Regions from separate parts of the Homo sapiens genome. Here region 2 is linked to region 1. Evidence: promoter capture Hi-C in 16 types of primary human blood cells and fetal thymus (Javierre and others, 2016). All regions are on one chromosome and are shown on one strand. The core of a region is centred on a gene start or on the middle of the fragment in contact, and the rest is flanking DNA. Distances in the headings are between cores, read along the strand shown.

Region 1 (6,252 bases), core at 2,301-4,800:
TCCATTAGTTCTCTTGCTCACTGCCATAATAGTCTGAAGTGATCTTGATTGTTCTGACATTCCACAAAACATCACACTGGTCCACTCTATTGATGACATTATGTGAGCATCATTGGATCCCATGAGTACGAAGTAGTAAGTACTTTAGATGCCTTAGTAAGATGTATGCTAGAGGGTGAAAGAGACCTACAGAGATTAAGGTGGTGAGAGAAGCCCACCTTCTCAATGGTGAGTGATGGCTACTGCTGAAAGGTCCACTGAATAAAACCACATTTTAAATCAGGTAGTTTACCTTCTAAAGGTAGAAAAGTCATTCATTTGGAACCAAACCACCTACTTCAGAATAGCTGTTTTGGTAAGTGAAGCATTTGCTTCAGTATTTGCTCTTAGTATTATTTTTAACAAGATTTCTAATGACAGATTGTGACTTGGAGGTGATTCACTTTTGTTTCCTAGTTGTCTTGACAGCAACGTAATTCATGATATTCTGAGTACTTGAGAATCCAAAAATTTTACAATCCAACAATATGATGTTTATTAAAATTTTCCTAAGAAATACACTGGTAAGCAAGGCACAGTGGCTCATGCTTGTAATCTCAGCACTTTGGGAAGCGGAGGCCTGTGGATTACTTGAGCTCAGGGGTTCAAGGCCAGTTTGGGCAACATGATGAAACAGCCTCGGCCAAAAATAAAAAATTACCTGGGCATGGTGGCTTGCACCTGTGGTCTCAGATACTCAGGAGGCTGAGGGTGGAGGATCACTGGAGCCCTGTAAGTCAAGGCTGCAGGGAGCTGTGATGGTGCCACTGCACTCCAGCCTGGGTGACAGAGTGACTCTGAAGAAAAAGAAAGGGCACTGATAAAAATTCTTTAGGATTGGATGGACTAAAGAGGGAGAACTATTTTTATTCAATTTTTTTTTTTGGTTACAAATAATAGTGACTTAAGGACCATAACTAAATATAATTTCAAGGAGGGGCAACTCTTAGTGTCTCTTATAACCACTTCACACAGAATTTACTTTTACTGCTATGGTGATTTCTCTTTAGATTTCTTTCTGTATTTATTTACGCTTTTATTTTTTATGTATGGTGTATATATCTATGACTTTTTCTCTCTGATTTTATGAAACTGAAATTAAAGTGGAAATACTTCTATGCCCTGCTTTTTTCCATGTGCTATATATATATCATCCTAAAATTACACATGGAAAAAAATTTAAAAGGATTTTATTATGAAACATTTCAAACATATAGAAAATTTGAAAAAAAAAATTATGCCAGTACCTTAGACACACGATTTACATTCAAGAAGTATTAATATTTTGAAAAATTTAGTTATCTTTCATGTGGGGGTGGGGTGCATTTTAAAGTACATCAAAGACCAGATGCTTACTTGGACCTTTGTTTCAGGAAGTCCAGAGCTTACAGCATATTCTGGATAGCACTGGAGAGAAACCAACACGGGAGAGAAAGCAGCCAGCAGTTTTCTGGCACTCCCTTAGTTTGAAAAAATTTACATCACAAGAAAGCAAGCCTTCCTTTCACCTTTTAGGTGCAAACTGATAAACATAACCAGTAGGGCTACTATACTTCACAGAGCCTTGCTCCCAGTAGATACTCAAAACATGCAGTTGAACTGAATTTCAGTTGTTATTTTAAAGCCGTGCTTGAAAAGCGTATGTGACAAATGTACTTTCCTAATCTTCCTGAGAAGAGCAGTACTGTGTCTTACGGGCGAAAAAACCAGAGGAGCCAGGAGTGGAGGGTGCAATAAAACGCCTGCATTGGGGCAGATTGCCTCATTTTGAATCCCTGACTCCTCACTGTGCTTTGGGGAAAACTATGGAAATTTTCACTGCCTAGCTTATTAAAATGGACTGCTTAGCTGAAATATAGAGGCGTCCATGACAACTACCCGGAGGGCTTTGTTAATCATATTGCAGGACTCCACCCGCAGTTTCTGGTTCTGTAGGTCTAGGTGGGGCCGAAAACGTGCATTTCTAACAAATTCTAGGGTGATAGTGACGCGGCAGGTCCCGAGACAACAGGAAACCCAAGGGACTCGAGGCAGGCGCTCAATAAATATTCACTATGAACCTCAGCACCATCGAAGCGGCCCACCAGCAGGGGCCGCGGGGTATGCGCTGCAGGGAAGAGCACGGCCTCTGTCCAATGTCCCTGCCGGTACATCACTCCTCTGCAGGGACTAGGTTAGAACCGGGAGGCAGCCAGAGCAGCGCTCTCGCTGGATAACGGAAGAGGACTCCCTCGCCAACTTCCGCCTCTGGGGAAAAGCGGGGACCCTCCGCCACCTGAGTTCTGTTGTCTCGATTTCGCCGCAGTTTGCTTCTGGCCCGGGCGAGAACCTGTCCTCTGGGCAAGCCAGGGGTCGGTACAGGACTCCTATACCCCAAGGCGAGGCGGAGGCAGGTGCCGAGCGGTGGCCAGAGTCCGGCGCCCAAAGCCCGATGGGAGGGCGTGGCGGGGGAGGACGGTCCCGCCAGCTCCCAGGTCGGTTCCGAGCGCCCGCGGCCCGATGGCCGGGCGGAAGATGGCTGCCCGGAGCGCCGCGGACAGTCACGTGGTACGCCGGGCCCGTAGCCGCGCCCCTTCCCCCGCTCGCCAAGTCCCCGACCCCGCGGGAGGCACGGCCTCGGGCTGCCTGTAGGCCACCGAGGTGCGGCGCGGGCCGGCCAGGGACGGCGGGCATCGGGGCGGGAAGGCCAGCTCTCCCCGCTGTCCATCCTAACTTGGGCGCTGGGGCTTCGCTCGGGGAGCAGAGGAAAACCTTCCTTCAGGCGACTTGCACCACGTGGGGCTACTGGGCATGCGCGGGCTCCGACCCCGGCCTAGCCGCTCTCCGGGTTTTCGCCGCAGCTCGGAGGGGCGGCGGAAGGTGGGCCCCAGGCGGGGCGGGGCGGCTCTGACGCAGTCGGAGTTTTCACCTCGCGCGGTTAGAGCTCTTGCGCCTCCGTCGCGCTCCCAGGCGTCGCCAGAGGCTTTTTTTTTCTGTTGTGGGAGAAAGATGAGAGTCTATGGTTAGAGGTTTGAAAATGGGCCGAATAGTCAGGTCGGCCGTTTCCTAGGAATGATCCATTGGGCATTAATCCCAAGTGTCGCAGCCCTTGGGCTTGGTGGGAAAAAGAATCCAGTAGTAGTTCGCAAACTCGTGCCTGGCTTCCAGCAGGCTGAGTTTGCGTTCCCTGCTTTGTGACCAGCTCTAGCGGCTCCCGTCTCCGGCCCTGCCCCAAGGGATTTACCGTCCCAGATTGTAAAATCTGGCTCCCGCTAGGCCTTACTTAGTGGGCCCCTAAAAACGCTGGGGAAAGCGCCCGCCTCCTCAGTTTCCCATTACTTGAAAGTAAAATTCAAGGGGCCCAAACTGCGACTGTCCCTTGGTTCGGGGTCCCGCTCGGTCCCGGGAGGAGCCCCCCGCGGACCCCGCCCGGCCGGCCCGCCCCCCCGGCCGCAGTGAACACCCGGAGGAGCGGAGTCGCGTCGCGCGGGAAGCCGGGCCGGCTCGGGCAGCGGACTGGGCATGCTCGGCAGCCCGGGAGGCTCGCGGTGGCAAGTCGAAAGCGTTCGCACCAGCGGGGCAGCGGCTGCGGGCGGCAGGCGGCGGGCAGGTCGGGAGTGAGAAGGACCGGCCTGGGCTGACTGCTCTCCCCTCGCGCCTAGGGAGCCGGTCGGAGAGCGCGATTGGGGTGCGGAGCCCCGACGCTGCCCTGCCCCGGATTTCATTCCGCGGCGGGGGCTCCGCGAGCGGAATTCCGGCGGCTGCCGTGACTCCAGTGCAAGTGAGTCGTGGGGCAGGGACAGACAGCCGGCCTCACGGTTGCGGGGGCCGATCGGACACCTGTCTCGCGGGCCCGGCCTTATGCCGGGGAGCAGCGGGCGGGCTGCTCTGGGGCGAGGGGGCGTGAGCGCAGCCCGCGCGGTGCCGCGCGCGTACCTGGCGGGCAGTCCTCCAGAGCTGCTGCTCCCGTGGGTGGTCACAGCGGGGAGGTCCGGCGGCCGGGATCCGGGCTCGGAGGGGGCGGGCCGCCGGCGGGGCTCCCCGGCTAAGTTGGGGCGGGGAGGAAGGAGGAGGCGTCAGTGGGCACCTTTTCAGAGCTACTGCGTGCGGGCTGGAAGGCTGCCTGGTGTCGGATTGGGGCGATCGGGAGGCGGGGAGCCTTTGGGCAGTAGCCCGCCCGGGGTCCGGAGACCCCCACCCAGGGGCCGACTCCAATCACGGCTCCACCCCCACAGCCTAGGTGGCGGTGTGACAGTTGGTACCTTCGGTCCAGATCGCAGCCGGCCAGGCGCCCACTATTTCGGGATCCCCCCACCGTAGCCCCTCGATGCCCCCTGACGACAAAACAGGTGGGACCCCCCCTCCCCGAGGAGCGCTCCCCTTCTCTCCAGGCCGCGTAACAGCCCGCCAGGCTCGCGGGCGGCTCTGAGACCCCGCAGGGCTGCCCCCGCGGGGCGGGGACGTTTAGGGGCAAGGCCTGGAGGGGAATCGGCGCAGCCCAGAACTGGACAGTCTCTCCAGGACGCCGCTTTTCCGTGACAGAGGGGGTCTGCGCTATCCCCCAGCGACGTGTCAAGGGCAAAACAGCAGCAGCAGCGGCTGCCTCTCCCACCGTCTTAACCCGAACTCGGGCTTGTGGCGTCCTCCCGTGGGCCGGATAGAGTGCCCTAGTCCAGCTAACGGATTCAGCCTGGAGCGTTCTGGTGAATGCTGCTTTCCTCTTTGGTGCCGCGAAGTAGAAATCGGGATAAGGGTTGTCATGGCCGGAGGGAGCGAAGAGAATCCAGGCAGGTGCTTCTCAGATGTTTCTTTTCACCTTCAAACAGTACAGACTTCAGCGGTACACGCTTACGAAACCAAGTGAAGGCTGCTTTCTGAAAGGGAAGTTTATTTTCTATGTTCTGGGGCCTGTCGACTATTTTAGCTCCCTTGACATTTATCTTCCTGGACCTTTAAAGCTGTTTGGACAGGTTATTTTGCTTTTAGGTTTGGGGATGTTTCTAGTTGGCTCCCTGGATGTGGAAGTGGCGAATGTCTGATGTGCTGTGCTGTGAACTCCCCACGCTTCCTGGCACTGGGGGTTGAAACATTCAGGGGGGACTGAGTGGGCCGAAGGAGAGGAGTGGGACTGGTGACGTAGGAACGCGATGGGTGTTGCCTAGAGCTGCCCAGATGGAAAGGGGTTGGCGGCTGTTTTGGCCTGTGCAGAAGGGGAGAGGGCGGGGCGTTTCATTGGTCGGGGTGTGAAACGTCCACGGGCGAAGGCTGCGGGGGATGGGTGCCTGTCTGGTCAGTGCTCCAAGGGAAGCCCAGGGATGTTTGGTGATTCAGCAGGTGGCAGCCTTCCAGCTCTGAAGACATGCCGTGGCCAAGCAAAGAAGCAAGCAAGCAAGCAAGCAGCAGCCTGTGCCTGCTGTCGGAGGCGCCAGCTTTGGGGGAACCTCCAGGTGCTGCCTTCTGCCTGTGGCAGCTCACTTGTCTTATCTTGCTTCCTGTTTAGCTCTGGAGGCCCTGGTATTTCGAGTTTCCTTACTGCGCCTCTTAAAATATACAGCAATATATAGCATGTTTTTGAGTCTCTGCATCTCTGTGACCTGCTGGGTAGCAGTGGGGTGGCTGCTGCCGCCATGCAGTTTTAAGTAGTTACTCTGCAGAAAGTGACAGTGATATGTAAAAACAGTGAAGTGGCCTTTCCTTCCATTTCTGCTTCACAGAATAGAAATTTATGTTTTTAGTAAAATAATAAGATACATTTCTGCAACTCTTCAGTGATGATAGTGAGCTATTTGAAATTTCCGGAAACTTTTTAATAAAAGACATTAACTCCAGAGATGTATTAAATTGACATCAGAGGGACACGGTTATTAAACCAGTATCTTACTCATTGGAAGATTTCTAGCATCTTGCACAGTGTCTAACTTGTATTCAATACATGCCTCTGCAGCTGAAATTTTAAAAATTCTTCATAACAGAAGAGTTTACCAGTATTTACCATGTTCATCATCTATTTTTAAGTCTGTATTAATATGGTTAGAGTAAAATATATGCATCAATACCTTTGCACATTGACATTTAAAGAATATTTATGTTTTCGTAAGACATGATTGCTGGGTTGACCATAAACATTCAATTTTAGCTTGAAAACTTGATTCTTTTACTTTTCTGGTTAAATTTATTAATTTTCAAACTTGGGGCAGATCCTACATTTCAGCTAGAGAAATGGTGTGCTTTGTT
Region 2 (6,252 bases), core at 1,150-3,649, 200 kb after region 1:
TATCAGATTTGCTGTCTCAGTAGCATTCTGTATTGTTGGAACATGCCACAAAGAGCACAGAAACGCATCTGCTGCTTGGGTTCTGCTTGCCAACTGGTTTGAACAGCTATAATATTTGTTTATTCTTGATGTGTCAGCAGTCAAAGGGAACGTTTTCTTTTCTCCTTTGTGGCTGTTATATAACTTAAGCATCATTATATTCACAACAATGACTATTTATGCAGAATCTGCTAGGCCCTGGGGGATACAGATGCTCGGAAACACGTCTACCTCAGATGGATTTCCACTGTCTGCTGAGAGTGAAAGGTCAGGGATCTCAAAAAGAAGGAAGGATGCTAAGATCCTATGTTAGTTGTGAAATGGAAGTATAAAGAATAAGATCTGTAGGTATTTGGAGGAGAGGAGAGATTCCCCAGGGCTTTTGCCAGTGACAAAAGTTCTAGGAGAAGAAAGGGTTTCAGTGGTCTGGAATGGGATATGTACTAAAAAGAATGCAAGAAGGTTGTCAGGCAGGGGGCATGGTGTGAGCCTAGTGCTTTGAATGAAACTCTGTCACCTTAGCTGGTAACCACCCAGCAGCTGAGAGGCCTGGACTAAAGAGCACCAACATGGGAGCCACCTGCATGGGTCCCTTTGGGGCAGCCTCTCCACCAGGGATGAGCATGGCTCCCAACTACAATGTGAAAGTTAAGAATTTTTAGACCCTCGAGTGTACATGGCACACTCGGAGGCCCCCACCGTCTCCACTACATAGGCCAGGGAGCACAGGCAGAGATAAAGAGACCCATGGGCCACCATCTTATTAGGGTCCAGTGTGTTATCCAAATATGTTTCCTAAGGGGAGCTTTAATTGGTAGGTTTAAAGCAAGCAGGTGCTAGTTCCAGGAGGTCCTGTTGTGACTGAGAGGTGGTCAGTTTAAATTTGCAAGCAAATGTCTGAACGGTCTGTTTAAGGAAGTGGTGGGAAAGTGAGGAGCCCAGCCTGCTAGGCAGGACTTGGGTCTCTTCAGTTTTATTTCCTGCCACCAGTGGGAGCCATTCAGGTGGGGAATGGAATTTGAAACTGTCAAGGGTGACTGAGCCCTGATTCTGAGAAAGTTAAACCTATATTTAAAGTGGATGTCAAGGCAACATAAAATGGTAAGCACTCACTATCCCTAGGTATGGTGGTAGTAATGTGCCCTCAGCTTTAGGGGAACAAGGAGTGGACCAGCGGGTTATTTGGCAGAGGGTTTTTAAGATCGGGGTTGCAGAGGTAGAGGCAAGGCTTTGAGTGCCTATAAATGTCATGGCACTGGACCCGTAGTTTCACCGTCACTTTTTTTTGATAACTATATGTTGAGAATCCGTGTACTTTAAATTTTAATTTTAGACAACAAAGGCATCCTAGAACCAGTTATCCTGTTCTCTTGTGGGAATGTTCTAACCACATTGGTCATTGTGTTGTTCTTATTTCTGAAGCATAAGGATTATTGGAAACATCTTTCAAGTGCTTTGAGTTATGATTGCAGCCAAACATATTTATGAAGCCTTCCTTCTTCCTGGAGAGAACACCTACTCTGAATGTTAAGCTTGGCTGGATCCTAAACAATACTAACAAACTAGATCATCTCTCTTTCCTGTCTGTGCTGCCTTTCCCTTTCTCCATCATAGATCTCAAAGTATCTCTCTGTGTCCACACACACACAAACACAATTGTATTTTTTAGACTGCAGTGTTAAGTTTATGGAGTTGTTCATATACACTTAAGCTTTATGTAGTCTTCTCATGTAAAAGAGCTGCTGTCCTTGATATAATAGCCAACATATTATCAGTTCAGCCAGTATAGCTCATTGTAACAATTACATAAATATAAAATATCAGTGCTCTTAAAAATACACATTAATTTACATGAATGTTTGAGGAAAGCTGCCCGTAAAGCAAATTGTGTTCCTTTTGATCTCTACTATAAAATTATTTAATTGACTGAGAGGAAAAGGTTTATGACATGATGGCATGCTCGACTTTGACATTTGTCATGTGATGATGATGATGATGTGTTGAGAGGCATAGAGGGAGGGGCCCGCCTGCTGGAACAGCGGCTAGAAGACACTCAACCTCAGTGACTCAGGCAGAGGGGACGAATGCCTGAACCAGGAATGGAAAAAATGGTCCAGATATGAAAGAAGCCTTCATGTTACGCCTATTGGTAGTGAACCATTAAGAGAGAAAAGAGGGAGCTCAGATGATTCCAGAATTTAACTTGAAGTGTCTAGGAGAGTAACATTACCTTTATGAGGAATATGAGAGTCAAGAGAGATTTGACAGCTTCATCATCTAGGAGACAGGCCCAACTTAAGTACCTGTTGCTAAGGATAAATGTGAGGCTATAGGCCGATCTTGCTTCTGCTCTTTTGACCATAGTTTGGTTTCCAACTGGAAACACTCTTAGAGATCCTCAGAGAGAGATGAAGCAGTCAGTTCACCCTGTCACTTACTGGCAGAGCTGAGACTAGGAAGGGAGCTCTTGGCTTTTTGTGCAGTGTTCTTTCCACTCTCCCGTGCTGCTTTGGAGAAAAGAACAGCATTTTGCTGATCTCACTTTAGATCTTATCTTTGGCTAATGAGTATTTTCAAGAAACCTTGGCCTGTGGAATGACTCTAAACATGTATGAGAAAGATCTCCAAAGAGATCTTTGCTCAGGAGATCTCCAAAGCAAAGAACGTTTAATTTGTAACTTAACATTTTTTTCTTCCCATCTAGAAATTCTCTTTTGGCAATAGCAATCAACTCATTTCTTAATGGGACCTCAGGAATTAGCACTTCTGCAGCCCCCTGTAATTTGCCAATTCCCAAATAAAGTTTCTTTTAAGTATTTTTATTACAAAATAATGTTTAGGGCACAGTGACTCAGATGGAATATTTCCACAAATCACTCTTACTTTTTTAAAAGTAGGTTCACCTGTGACCTAAATGAAATCATTCCAATTTTAAGCCTATTTGCTACCAATAAACTTTCTATTGTATAGTAAGAATACCAAATTCAAGAATCCTGAACCTAAAGCTTCTTAAGTTTCTCACCACTTAAATGAGGGACTCAGACCAGGGAATACCAGAGAACTATTTCAGCTCTAAAATTCTTTAGATATTTAACATAGGAAAGAATTTTTGAAAATTACGAGCCAGTTTGTTTACAATTTTGGAGATTCGGATTCAGGACTCAGAGGGACAAGACAGCATTTTTTGAGTGCCTACTCTTTGTCCAGCACTGTGGTAAATGCTTTGCATGCATTGTTACATAATCAGTAGTTCCCCCCTTATCTTCAGATGGTATGTATGTTCCAAAGCCCCCAGTGGATGCCTGAAATCTCGATGGTCCTGAACCCTATATATACTATGATTTTTCCTATACATACCTATGGTGAAGTTTAACTTATAAATTAGGCACAGTAAGAGATTAACAGTAACTAATAATAAAATATAACAATTTTAACAATCTCAGAATGACATGAAATTTAAAATTTATGCATTGCTTATTTCTAGAATTTTCCATTTAATATTTTCAGACTGCAACTGAAGGGGCGGGGTAACGGACACAGCAGAAAGAGAAACTGCATATGGGGGGACTGTTGTAATCTGTAAACTGTTAGGTGGGCATTTTAGCCCCCTCATTGATGATAATTAACTTACTCAAGGCCACACAGTGTCAGAGGTCTGATCCAAATCTGCTTTGATACCAGGTCCCACCTCTTTGCACCCAGTATCTCTGCCTAACTCAAAAACTTTTACTAATCGAAACTAATGTACATCCACTGAAGTATCTTTCGTAAGATTAATCCTTGTTTCCCAAGCGTTTTCAAAGGCAACCTACCCTTTTCTAGAAGTTGTGTCGAAGTTGTCAAAGGCGTAAAGAAAAGGCTGTGAAAGGCTTCTAAGCTTGGTATAAATCAAGAAAGGAAAGTTCCGCCTTAACCGACACTGAACATGCTTATTGGTTAGGACTGAACGGGCTGACTCATTTCTTTTTTGCCGTGGTAGAGGGCCACACCCTGCATTCCAAAAACCCTCTGCTGCCGGGCCACACCCGCCAACCCCGCTCTTGGAGCCTCTGAGGTCCGGCTGGGCGTCTAGCTCGCAGTTGACCCCCCGGGAGAGGATCGGCGCATCCGGCCGCCCGCCAGCTCCAGACGCCGGGCTCCGCAGCGCCGCTGTCCTAGCACCAGGGCCCGGCAAGCAGGGGAACGGGACCGCCGGGACCGATCAAGGCGCGGGCGCCCAGCAAGAGCCGCGCCCGGGGTCTGCGCGCCGCTCAGCGCGCTCGCCTTTCCGCCCGCGCCAGGGCTGGCTGCGCGCACCCTGAGCGCGAGGAGCCGCGCGCAAACTTGGTGCCCCAGGAACTTTCCAGGAGACACTGCCTCCGGGGACGAGAGACCGTAAGTGTTGCTCCGGAGATGCTGTGGTTCATTAGAATACACTAACAGACGGTGTGAACCGATTAAAATACCGCAATCAGTGCCAATTCTACTACGGCGAAGTAAAGGGAAATCTTTATTTTTCCTGCATCCTGCTTTAATGATCAAATAGGCACTAGCTATTTACACCTGAGAAGGTTCAGTGCAGTTGCTGAAGCAGTGGGTCAGGATATGGGTAGGATCAGTCAACAAATGCTCTTTATATTGCGTGATGCTAACTGCCGTGGCATGAGAACCAAGGGTAGGGGGTGGTTTCTGTTTGGGGTTATCAAGTCTTCCTAATGGCAGTTTTTGAGAGAACGGGATTGTGTCTACAGATTGGTTATTAAGTTTTGGGGAAGTACTCACTTTCTCAAACTCCAGTCCCTGTACGAAACAGCCCTTTTGGCAACTCCTTTGGTTGGTTGGAAGCTGGCTTGTGAATGAGCTTGGTACTAAGTGCCACAAGGATGCACGTGCCCCTGTGTTTTGGACTGAGTGTGTTTACTCCATAACTGTGCTTTCTATTTAGTGTGGCCAGGTAATCGCTCTTGTGGAATTTGTCAATAAATACATGGAGAAGAATGCATGACATTTATTTTATTTTATTTTATTTTATTTTATTTTATTTTTGTGTTTGTTTTGTGTAGTTATACCAAAATAGGAAATCTGGAGACCTAAATTCTGTTACCCTGAATGCTACAAATATTTATCATAACATTTTTATCCAATTGAGTTACCGCTTTTAAATTTATGTAGAAATAAGTCCAGTGAGCCACTTAAAAAACCCGCTTTTCTACATAAGAAATTAGTGCAGTTGTATGATGCCAAGTAACTTATTTTCTTGCAAGAGTTTGGGGAAGTAGGGGACAGGGAAAGTGGAATCCTGTGACGACTGAGGATATACACAATGCAACAGGGAAGTTATCATGATCAGAAACACTGACTGCGTACAGGAAAGACAGGTTAAAGACGTCCCAGTAACATAAAGGATGGTGGGAAGACTTGTAAACTGAATTATGAAGTTATGAATATGAATGAGCAAGTCACGAATAGCATCATTACACATGCATTTATGAAGATAGAGACTGTGATGAGGTTAAAAGATAGACTGTCATGGAGAGAGGAAGAAAATTCTTTGCAGCTGGCTTTTTTTAGCGAGAGAAAGAAAATTCTTCGCAGCTGGCTTTTTTTTTTTTTTTTTTTTTAGTTCTATAAAGGAAACTTCCCTAGAAAGAAACCACTTCTAAATGGAATAATTAAAATAATTTGTTAGAAACTTTAAGTTACCCTATGAGCTCCTAGTAACACTGTTTTCAAGCTCATAGGTTAATTGTTAAGCCCTTTTGCTCCGAGTTGAACTGATCAAATGGCTCTGTGTAAAAGGTAACAGTGTAGAATCCTCTTTGAGAAATAGCATGTAAACTTGGGAGAAATGGCCTAAGCCCACGGTTCTCAAGTCACTGAGACAGTTGAAAAAGCCCCCTCAGGTGGTGAGAATGGGATAATATTTTATTATATCTCTAAGATGCCTCAAATCCAAAGAGATAATTAAATTTGGAATTTTATTAGTTTCACCTAATAGTTGTATAAAAGCTGAATATTTAAGGATCTCCTTTATCAGGCACTGAGATGCTTTGTATACATTACTTCATTTAGTTTTCACAATAGTCCTAAGAGGTGGAGGTATTTTTGACCCTGTTTTATAGTTGAAGAACAGGCTCAGTAAGGTTATATTACCTGCTCCAAATTTCACAGCTAGTTAATTTAGTTTATGTTGGAAGTTAGCATTTAAGGTTGGTTATTTTTCCTATGTGGCTC

Evidence for each region. The method cuts DNA at HindIII sites, captures the fragments that hold promoters and counts their contacts. A CHiCAGO score of 5 or more calls a contact.
Region 2: a fragment that was not itself captured here is called in contact with the fragment with the promoter of SGMS1 in region 1 in 15 of 17 cell types (M0 macrophages, total B cells, erythroblasts and 12 more); the score reaches 15.8 in M0 macrophages.

What each region holds. Positions count from the first base shown.
Region 1 is chr10:50,621,254-50,627,505 of GRCh38, reverse strand. SGMS1 (sphingomyelin synthase 1) reads left to right here and starts at 3,550. Exons shown (of 11, transcript NM_147156.4): 1 at 3,550-3,799. It overlaps SGMS1-AS1 (SGMS1 antisense RNA 1), which reads right to left and starts at 2,555. Exons shown (of 4, transcript NR_126411.1): 1 at 2,315-2,555; 2 at 701-836. RefSeq lists silencers at 2,383-3,012, 3,137-3,294, 3,343-3,602, 3,863-4,202 and enhancers at 3,153-3,681, 4,393-4,792, 5,343-5,502. The HindIII fragment of the contact is 12,791 bases long and covers 1-6,252 here.
Region 2 is chr10:50,416,225-50,422,476 of GRCh38, reverse strand. All of the region lies in intron 6 of SGMS1 (sphingomyelin synthase 1), which reads left to right. Among named protein-coding and RNA genes, the nearest start is that of ASAH2, 170 kb to the right of the region's middle. RefSeq lists a silencer at 4,037-4,316. The HindIII fragment of the contact is 1,294 bases long and covers 1,753-3,046 here.